Linked DNA regions of Homo sapiens: regions 1 and 3 are each linked to region 2. The links are contacts of gene promoters, found by promoter capture Hi-C in blood cells and fetal thymus (Javierre and others, 2016). All regions are on one chromosome and are shown on one strand. Each heading gives the region's core, a stretch centred on a gene start or on the middle of the fragment in contact. The rest is flanking DNA. Distances are from core to core; before and after follow the strand shown. Region 1 holds the start of LCA5 (lebercilin LCA5). Region 2 holds the start of IBTK (inhibitor of Bruton tyrosine kinase). Region 3 has its middle 11 kb from the start of BCKDHB.

The links. Contacts are between HindIII fragments. The CHiCAGO score rates a contact against its expected background, and 5 or more counts as called.
Region 1: the fragment with the promoter of LCA5 here is called in contact with the fragment with the promoter of IBTK in region 2 in 4 of 17 cell types (activated CD4 T cells, non-activated CD4 T cells, total B cells and 1 more); the score reaches 11.3 in activated CD4 T cells.
Region 3: a fragment that was not itself captured here is called in contact with the fragment with the promoter of IBTK in region 2 in 1 of 17 cell types (activated CD4 T cells); the score reaches 6.1 in activated CD4 T cells.

The regions. Positions count from the first base shown.
Region 1 is chr6:79,535,792-79,538,696 of GRCh38, forward strand. It overlaps LCA5 (lebercilin LCA5), which reads right to left and starts at 1,639. Exons shown (of 8, transcript NM_001122769.3): 1 at 1,374-1,639. It also overlaps a transcript of SH3BGRL2 not described here. RefSeq lists enhancers at 1,535-2,108, 2,103-2,152, 2,683-2,905. The HindIII fragment of the contact is 3,782 bases long and covers 1-2,597 here.
Region 2 is chr6:82,245,921-82,248,993 of GRCh38, forward strand. IBTK (inhibitor of Bruton tyrosine kinase) reads right to left here and starts at 1,824. Exons shown (of 29, transcript NM_015525.4): 1 at 1,642-1,824. RefSeq lists a silencer at 1,457-1,626. The HindIII fragment of the contact is 2,262 bases long and covers 719-2,980 here.
Region 3 is chr6:80,093,906-80,096,975 of GRCh38, forward strand. No RefSeq gene overlaps it. Among named protein-coding and RNA genes, the nearest start is that of BCKDHB, 11 kb to the right of the region's middle. The HindIII fragment of the contact is 3,734 bases long and covers 1-3,070 here.

The DNA.
Region 1 (2,905 bases), core at 389-2,888, 2.7 Mb before region 2:
CAAGAACACAGAGTAAAAAATAGAAGACGGAAGACTGAAGACTGGATTATTGGGAAAAACAATAATGAAATATGGTGGGCCGAGGAAGAAGATCCCACAAAGGAGTTGAAGAATGACAGGCAGATGAAGAACCCAAGAGAAGGGTAGCATCTTTATTTAATGGGCTTCCATTGTGTCCTACAGAATTATAGTTCCACAATATGTGTAACGGAAGAGATGTGACTCACAAAAGAAGAAAAATCTCTTTTCCAAAGTCACAAACTACTTTTTGATATTTAAAATGATACTTTGTCAACTTAGAGAATCAAAACAAACTATTATTTCCTATAACTTATTTGGATAAACATACTAGCTAACATGGGAAATCACAAAGTGAAATATTTAAAATGGTAATATAGAATTTAAATGTGGAACAACTGGAAAAAAACATAGATTAAAATAACCATGCAAAAGAAAGAGGGAATGAGTAAAGAACTGGAAACATCGGTTTTACCATTCTAAAACACATATAGCCACTCCCTCTGCCAAAAACTAAATGATGACTTCTGATTGCAAAGATATCTCTAATGCAAGTTCTTAACGTGAAGATAAAGGAGGGGAATAAATATGTATGTGCCCAAGTATACTTTCCAAAGAACAAAGTGAACAAAAAAGGGGTTTATATCAGATGAACTGGACCAGGGCTCTTCACTGTTAAACACTATCCCACGGTCTATCTAACGTAAACATCACGTATCTGAGTACCGACTCCAACTCGAGTATGCCAAAAAGGCACTTTCTTTTTTCTTTTATTTCTAACCATCTTTACTCCTCTCATCCCATCCCTGAAGGATGTATAGAAGTATCACAGCCTGGACAAGTACGGCTTTCCACTCTAACCACAGTTTTAATAATAACACATCTATTATTATCCGAGAGCTACCAAAGCCTCCTTTTCCGTCTTGGCCCTTGGCCCTGCCCCTCCTCTCTAGTCTTGAGTCTCCACGGGCCTCCGGGGTTTTTGTTTTGTTTGTTTTAATAACAACCACTTCTCTAGATCCGCTTGCTCCCTTTCTTCTCTTCTCGGTCCCAGGAAGTAAATACCCTTTCCCAGCTCCTCTCCTCCTAACTTCCCAGTCCCCCCAGTGCCGGTCAACCTCCCTTCCTCGGGACCCTCTCAGAAGCCGAGCTCTTTACTCATTTTCCTAGGTCTTCCTTCTCCTCGCGGTCCCTACATCCTCCCCCATCCCTAATCCCTTCATCTTCCCTGCTTTAAGAACCACCCGCAGGCCCCCATCCACGAACGCCCCTTCACTAGCTACCAGACGCTTCAACCCAGCCTCACCTCGCACCTCCACCTCCCCCGCCGTCTCCACGCCCACTTCAAAGCCCACCTCCAACCCGCAGGCTCTTCAGCAGAGCCGATGCGGCGTCCCGCCTCCTTGCCTTCCCTCTTAGGACCAAACTCCCAGCTGGGGCCTCGGCGTCTGACCGCCAAAGAGCGGGTGCCTGGTTCCTGCGGAGGCTGCCGGGCGGGTGCCGAGGTTGCCGAGATGCGGGAGGTTTGAACACAAGGATGGGACAGAGGCGAGGATCGGGGCTCCTGGGTGGCAGCGGCGGTAACCTGGGCTCCAGGGTAACGGAGGCGGAGGCCTAGACTGCACTACGAAGAGACCGCAGCCAATCATGATGACTCTACCCGAGCTCCCATTGGCTTCTGTCTCCAGACGGCCCTTTTTATTGGCTTCAGTGGAACTGGAAGGCGGGACGGCGAGTGCGGGAGAAGGTCTCCATTGGCCGACCGCTCTAGCTGTAGCGGAGACCCCCAAGTAGGGAAATTGGGGCAAAACGCGGAGCGCTCCAGGCTCCTACGGGCTGTGCGGTGCCAGGGCTCGACTGCTGAGCGTCGTGGGCTCCGAGAGGGACGCGGGCGGAGGGCAAAGTGGGTTCATGATATGAATTGTAAAATTGGCGACTGCGTAATGTAAAACACTTAACAATTGCTTAGATTTCCTTTGGGAAATAACTTGCTTTTAAATTGTAAACAAATTACAAACAAACTGCTAGTGCTTCTGGATCTTCTTACCGAAATGGCTGATTCAGGAGGATGCGGGGTGAGTGCACTATTGTTCCTGCCTCGAGATCCTGGCTGTGAATCACCAACGAGCCGTGAGTTTGGCTTGAAAGTGATTTTTAGGTTTTGGAACGGGTTTGGGGTGGAATGGCATCTGAAATATTTGCACACAAGTTTTTTTTTTTTTTTTTTTTTTTTTTTTTTTTTTTTAAGGAACGTTTTGAGGAGCATGTCAGCCTATTGAGCGCTGATGTGTGACATATTTTCTCTTTTAGAAATGGCATTAATTGCGGGAGACAGGGAAGGTAAAAAAAAATCCTCTTTCGTGAGGGCTTTAAACTGCTCCGAGCCATCTGATTATCAAGGTGGTTTAACACTACTCTGGTGTTCTCACTATTGTTAATTTCTCACTGGCCTTTTTACCACCATTCTGTAGAGAATCTAATATTTGAAGGCAAATGCGTTTAATGAATCTTCTAACCATGAAGATTGGTAATTCCTGCTTCTCGCTCAACCTCGTTTTTCCACCTTTGCACTGTTTCAAAGCTTTCATTTTATCCTGTCAATACATTTTACTTCAAGTTACAGACTAACCCACCCAAACAATATTGTGATTAAATGTAATTTTCTGTATGCGAAATACATCTGTACAAGATGGCAGTCATCTGTTAGTGAAAATAAGATGAGTAATCCCTAAATTGCACGGAATTACTTTTCATCAATTCTTTAATCTGTCTCTGCTGACACTGTTAAAATAGCTCACTCGTTATTATGGACTCTGTTAGAATTAACATGTAAATGTATGGGTGGATTACTTATAAAGGAAGTTGCTAGGAAGAATCAGAAAACATA
Region 2 (3,073 bases), core at 574-3,073:
CAAAATTAAACAACGGAAAAAACACACAAAAATTATAGGTGAAATTTTGTTTTATACATTATACACAGTGCTCTACATAAATATAATCCTTATTATTGCCCCTGTAAATATGATCACTTTCATTTTCTGATGAGGAGATTCATGTGAAAGTTTAAAAAGCCTACCTAAAATAATACCGACAGAAAAGTGCTCTTGATCCCACCTATTCTATGCTACCAAACTGCTCTCCCAAAAGGCAGTTAGAAAAATTTCAATGCAAGTAGTATAGTGTAGTAGAAAAAAGTACCATGGAATTCAATTCAAAATAATTGAATTCAAAAGCAGTTTGGTAGGGCAGCTGGAGACTCAAGCGATTCTGCCTCAGCCTCCCGAGTAGCTGGGATTACAGGCACACATCACCATGCCTGGCTGATTTTTTTGTATTTTTGGTAGAGACGGGGTTTCACCAAGTTGGCCTCGAACTCCTGACCTCAAGTGATCCGCCCACCTTGGCCTCCCAGACTGCTGGGATTACAGGCATCTTTTTTTTTTTTTTTTTTTTTGAGATGGTGCCACACTCAGTCGCCCAGGATGGAGTGCAGCGGCGCGATCTCGGCTCACTGCAACCTCCACCTCCCGGGTTCAAGCAATTCTCAGCCTCCCCAGTAGCTGGGATTACAGGCGTGAGCCACCGCGCCCGGCCTAAAAAATTTCTTGAAGTAAACTCTGGTTTGACTAAAGCTTCTGCAAATATTTGCAAATGTAATTATTTTTAGAAACCAGTTTTGTCCTCATCTACCTTGCCTCAATTTCTAAAACAAATAAAAGTTAAGGAATTCAAAATACAAAAAGAGAAATGATCAAGAGGGGGCTGGCAAGCCTGTGAATTTACACCACTTTATGGGCACTGAAACACTACTACTCATAAAAGTCATATCCTTTCAGTATTTCTGATAAATTTCAAATGGCCTACTTCGAGGCATAAGTTAAAAGGTGCTACATGAATCTCTGGCTAACACAGTCAAGTTTTATGAACTACGTTGGAAAACAGGAGTCAAGGACGGCCTATGTTACCTAATTCGCAGCTGAACTAAAACTCTTTGAGCCAGACAGCTCTGCCTGTTACAAAAACAAAGGGCCTGTCTTCTCTGTCTCTCTCAACCCTCCACCCTCCAAAAAGAATCAGTTCCTTTTTACATAGCAATCAATGTCCACTTATCAGATTTCACGACCTGCTTCCCCAGAGTCAGTATCCCCAGGGTGGACTCAAACTTGTGACTCCAGGAAGGGGATAAGGAACATGAGCGCCCACAGGAATGGCTTCAAATCCAAGACTCGAAGGAAAGTGACACTACATAACTATCACAACTAGGAATGCAATGTCGCTGGAGGGCGTGTCCAGCAGGACGGGAGCGTAGCGCATCGCCGGGACAGGCCATTCATTAGCTGAGGGGGGCGGTAGGGACCCTGGCCACTCGGCCCTCTCCGCGCCGCCTCGCGCGAAGCCCGGCAGCCTCGGGGCCACAGAGTCCCCTCCCCACGGTCCCCCCGCGCCGCCGTCCGCAGCCACCCGCACCCTCCAGAAGGCGAATACTCTCCCCCTGCCCCCGGGCTGAAGGGAAGCCGCACCGCACGGTCGGGCAGCGCCAAGCCCTCCCTCACCAGTCGCTAGATGAAACTGCGCCGGTGGATTCCGCAGGGTCCACATAGAGCCACAAAGGGACTCATCCTCAGTGAAGGCAATAAGAGAAACCGAACGGCGCCAGAGGGGCCAGTCCCCAGACCCGGGTCAGTTCGGCAGGCGGCTGCAATACAGCCGCTACTACAGGAATCGGGAACGGGGATGTAGAGGAAGGGCCCGAGCGGGCGGTTCCCAGTAATAAGGCGGGCGCTGGTTGGCTGGGGCTCCTGTATGTCTCTTGATGATTGGCTGGTGCCTGCCCAGAAGGTTTCGCGTGGCAGCACCTCTGCCATGGCCTTTTCCCTGGCGCCCCAAAGGAACTTGACCTCGCCGGCCTTGGGGCCGCTGACTCAGGCCAGGGGCGGGGAAAAGAAAAAGGCCGCAGCGGGGAACTCTAGGCCAACAACGGTGATGGGAGTGTCCCTTTCAGGCCAGCCATCTCGTAGTTAGAAACGTCTCTCTAGGTAGCTGGAGACTCGCGGGGGAGGCTAAACCCGAGTGGAGAAGGAGACCTGGCAGGATGCCTTGGACACCCGGTCGCTACGCAGCAGAAGCCAAGTGCATAGGCGTCCTGCACAGAAGAGTTTCCTCCCATGGCCTTAGCAGTGGGGTTACTGCAAAGCCAAAGGTGTAGTCTCCGTAAACCCAGCCTCACCCCTCTCTGGATCTCCATACACCCGGATTATCTGGCAGTCACTCCCTTGGTCAGAAGGCGTCACTGCCCTCTTAGATCACCACCGTAGGACTAGCTGCCGACCCGGGTCACGCCACTCACTGCCTGACACCAGGCTTACACTAGGCTTTTTCCACTTGAACTCTGAATCTAAAGGCCATTTAGAAAGTGGTCAAGTGAAAAATGCTAGGAGGGACAGTAGCCAATAATCAATACTAGGTTACTGAATGGGAAACACACTGCTGCTGAATGCCTAATACGGTAAGCACTCAGTAAATGATTGTTCAAGGAGGTGTAGTGTGACTCAAAACAAACGACACTAAGAATCATGAGTTGGCTGTACAGCTCTGCCACGTTGAGTTTTACAAGCCACTGAGTCGACCTCATCTAATCTCTAAAAGAAAGGAGTTGCGCATGTCTTAATGCCCACTGAGCTCTGCTTGCTCTCTTTTGAAGCCTTTTTTGTGGGAGGGTAGGTTACTAGCCCAAAGCCACACAGCTGCTTAGCGAAAGAGAAAGGGAGACTAGGACCCAGCCCTCCTACTGCCCTTCCCAGCACATAATTGTTTCTTTGCTCTTTATTCTTAATGTCCTTCTACAAAACAAAAACCAGTTTGTAATGTCAAAATTGAGTGGTTTTGAAAATAAGCTTAAGTTGGCCGGGCGCGGTGGCTCACGCCTGTAATCCCAGCAATGTGGGAGGCCGAGGCGGGCGGATCACGAGGTCAGGAGATCGAGAC
Region 3 (3,070 bases), core at 386-2,885, 2.2 Mb before region 2:
CCTGAGCTTCAGCTTTCTTATCCGTAAACTGGAGTTAATACCTGCCTCTTAGGAGAGTGAAGATAAAATAAAATAATGTATGCAATGTGTGGGGCTTGGCCTGTTATTATTTGGCAGATGCAAAGGCAGATACACTGAAAGGCTGAAATGGAATTGCTATTGGAAAGTGAACTAATCAAAAGGCACCTTGAAATCTGTACATTGATTTAGAAAATTTAAATTGCAACTTTTCTTAAATATGTAGTATGCAAATCATTGTACAATTGTATTCTGAAGAATAGTAGCAAGTGGTAATAATTTTTATTATCTCATGCCACCTGGTGTCTTGACCAAGTTACTACAATCCGTAATTGTGACTTTTTTGGGCGGGTGGTGGGGTTTGTTTTCTTCTGTTTTCCAGAGAGATAAGGCATCTTCCATAATTATGAATTCTTAATAAAAACAATCCTAGTTAATATTACTAGACTTTTCTTCTGGAACTGGCACATATACATCTTTTACATGTGTTTACACATGTAAATTAATTCAACAAATACTTATTGAGCGATTGGTATGTACAAGTAACTTGTATGTATCATGTGATTTTGTCATCATGACATCCTTCTAGGTAGTTTTAATGTTCTCTCCATGAGACTTGACGGGTTAAATGATACACTCAAGGTCATTCAGCTAGAAACAGAGCTGGTATCTAAACCAATTACTTATCTCACTGTGTCTATTATAGCATATAACAGTTAATTTACACTAACTTATTTGTACAGCCAGTTTTCTTTTACAAGATGATCCTTTGAATATAGCAACCCTATGAAGAATCTTTAATAGAGTTGCTTTCTTTGGGGCTGAATGTTTATTCCATTTTAATTTCTCTTTTAAGTTTTATCTTTTTGTTATATCTTTTAGTTATATCTCTTTGAAAGACTTTTTAGTGGTTGCTGTAGGAATTGTAAGGAATTATTGCTCTAGGGGTCTCATTCTTAACGTATCACTTCTACTTAGATTTAATATCATATTACTTCATGCAAACTGTAAGAACCTTGGAGAGTATAATTCCATTTATACTCCACCCTTTATCCTATTATTGTCTTATATTTTACATGTAAATACATTACAAACCCCACAACACAGTGTTATAATTTTTACTTCATTTATTTTATTTTTTTATTTTTGTTTAAAGATGGGGTCTTGCTATGTTGCCCAGGCTGGTCTTGAACTCCTGGGCTTAAGCAAACCTTCCACCTCAGTCTCCCAAAGCACTAGGATCATAAGAGTGAACCACCACATCCACCTATAGTTTTTACTTTAAATACTCATTTGTCTTTTAATGGAATTAAGACATGAAAAAAGATGATACCTTTTATATTTCCTCACCTACTTATGGCTTTTGATCCTTTTCACTCCTTTCATCTAAAAATCATTTCCTTTCTTTCATTTCTGGTCTGGTAATTTGATTCTTCTCTTTTTCTCTTGGTCAATCTAGCTTAAAGTTTGTCGATTTTTTTTGATGTTTTCAAAAAACCTAGCTCTTGTTTCCTTCCTTCTGATTGCTTTAGACTTAGTTTATTCTTTTTTCCCCCCGGTGTCTTAGGCCAGGAATTTGGGTTATTGGTTTGAGATCTTACTTCTTTTTAAATCAGGCATTTACAGTTGTAAATTTTCCTCTAAGCACTACTTTAGTTACATATGTTTTAATATGTTGTATCTTCATTTTTATCCATCTGTAAGTATTTTCTAATTTCTTGTATCAGTCTGTTGTCACACTCTTATGAAGAAATACCTGAGACTGGGTAATTCATAAAGAAAAGAGGTTTAATTGGCTCACAGTTCTGCGGGCTGTACAGGAAGCATGGCCGGGGAGGCCTCAAGAAACTTGCAATCATGGCAGAAGGTGAAGGGAAGCCAGCACATCTTATGTGGCTAGAGCAGGAGGAAGAGAGATGGGGGGAGGTGCTACACACTTTTTAAACAACCAGATCTTGTGATAACTCACTGTCGTGAAAGAACAGCACCATGGGGGGAAATCTGCCCCCACAATCCAATCACCTCCCACCAGGCCCCACCTCCAATATTTGGGATTACAATTTGACAAGAGACTTGGGCTGGGACACAGACCCAAACCATATCATTTCCCTTTGATTTATTTTTTGACCCATTTGATTTGTAATTTAATTCTTTATTCCATTGTGGTCAGAGGACATACTTTGCATTATTTCTATTCTCTTTTTCCTTTTTGTTTTAGAGATGGGGTCTCACAATATTGCACAGGCTGGAGTGCAGTGGCTATTTACAGGTGTAATCATAGTGTACTACAGCCTGAAATCCTGGGCTCAAGTGATTCTCTTGTCTCAGCCTCTTGAGTAGCTAAGGCTATAGGTGGACACCACCATGCATAACTCTTTCTATTATTTTAAATGTATTGAGGTTTACTTTATGGCCTAACACATACTGTATCTTGGAGAAGGTTCTATATACACCTGAGAAAAACATATAGTCTGGTGTTTTTAGGTGGAGTGTTCTATAAATACCTGTTAGGTCTAGTTGGTTTACAGTGTGTTTAAGTCTTCCATTTCCTTGCTGATTTTCTGCCTCGTTGTTCTACCCACTATTAAAGTGAGTTATTGTAGTTCCAACCATTGTTGTAGAATTGTCCATTTCTCCCATCATTTCTGTCAGTTTTTGCTCCGTGTATGTTGGTACTCTGTTGTTAGGTGCATATATGTTTAAAATTGCTTATATTTTCCTTATGAATTGACCCTTTTGTCTTCATAAAAGTATCCTTCTTTATCTGTAGAAACCGTATTTTTGTTTTAAAGTCTATTTTTTTCTAATATTAGTATAGCCTCTCTACCTTTCTCATGGCTGGTGCTTGCAAGATATATCTTTCTATTCTTTTACGTTTAAGTATTTGAATCTAAAGTGTGTCTTCTGTAGACAGCATTTATTTGGATCTTGATTTTTCATCCAGTTTAACAATCTCTGCTTTTTATTGTCTATGTTCTTTTTTTACCTCTGTTAAAATGATTACTTTTTCCATTTACCTCTGTTAAAATGATTACTTTTTCCTTTTTCAGTC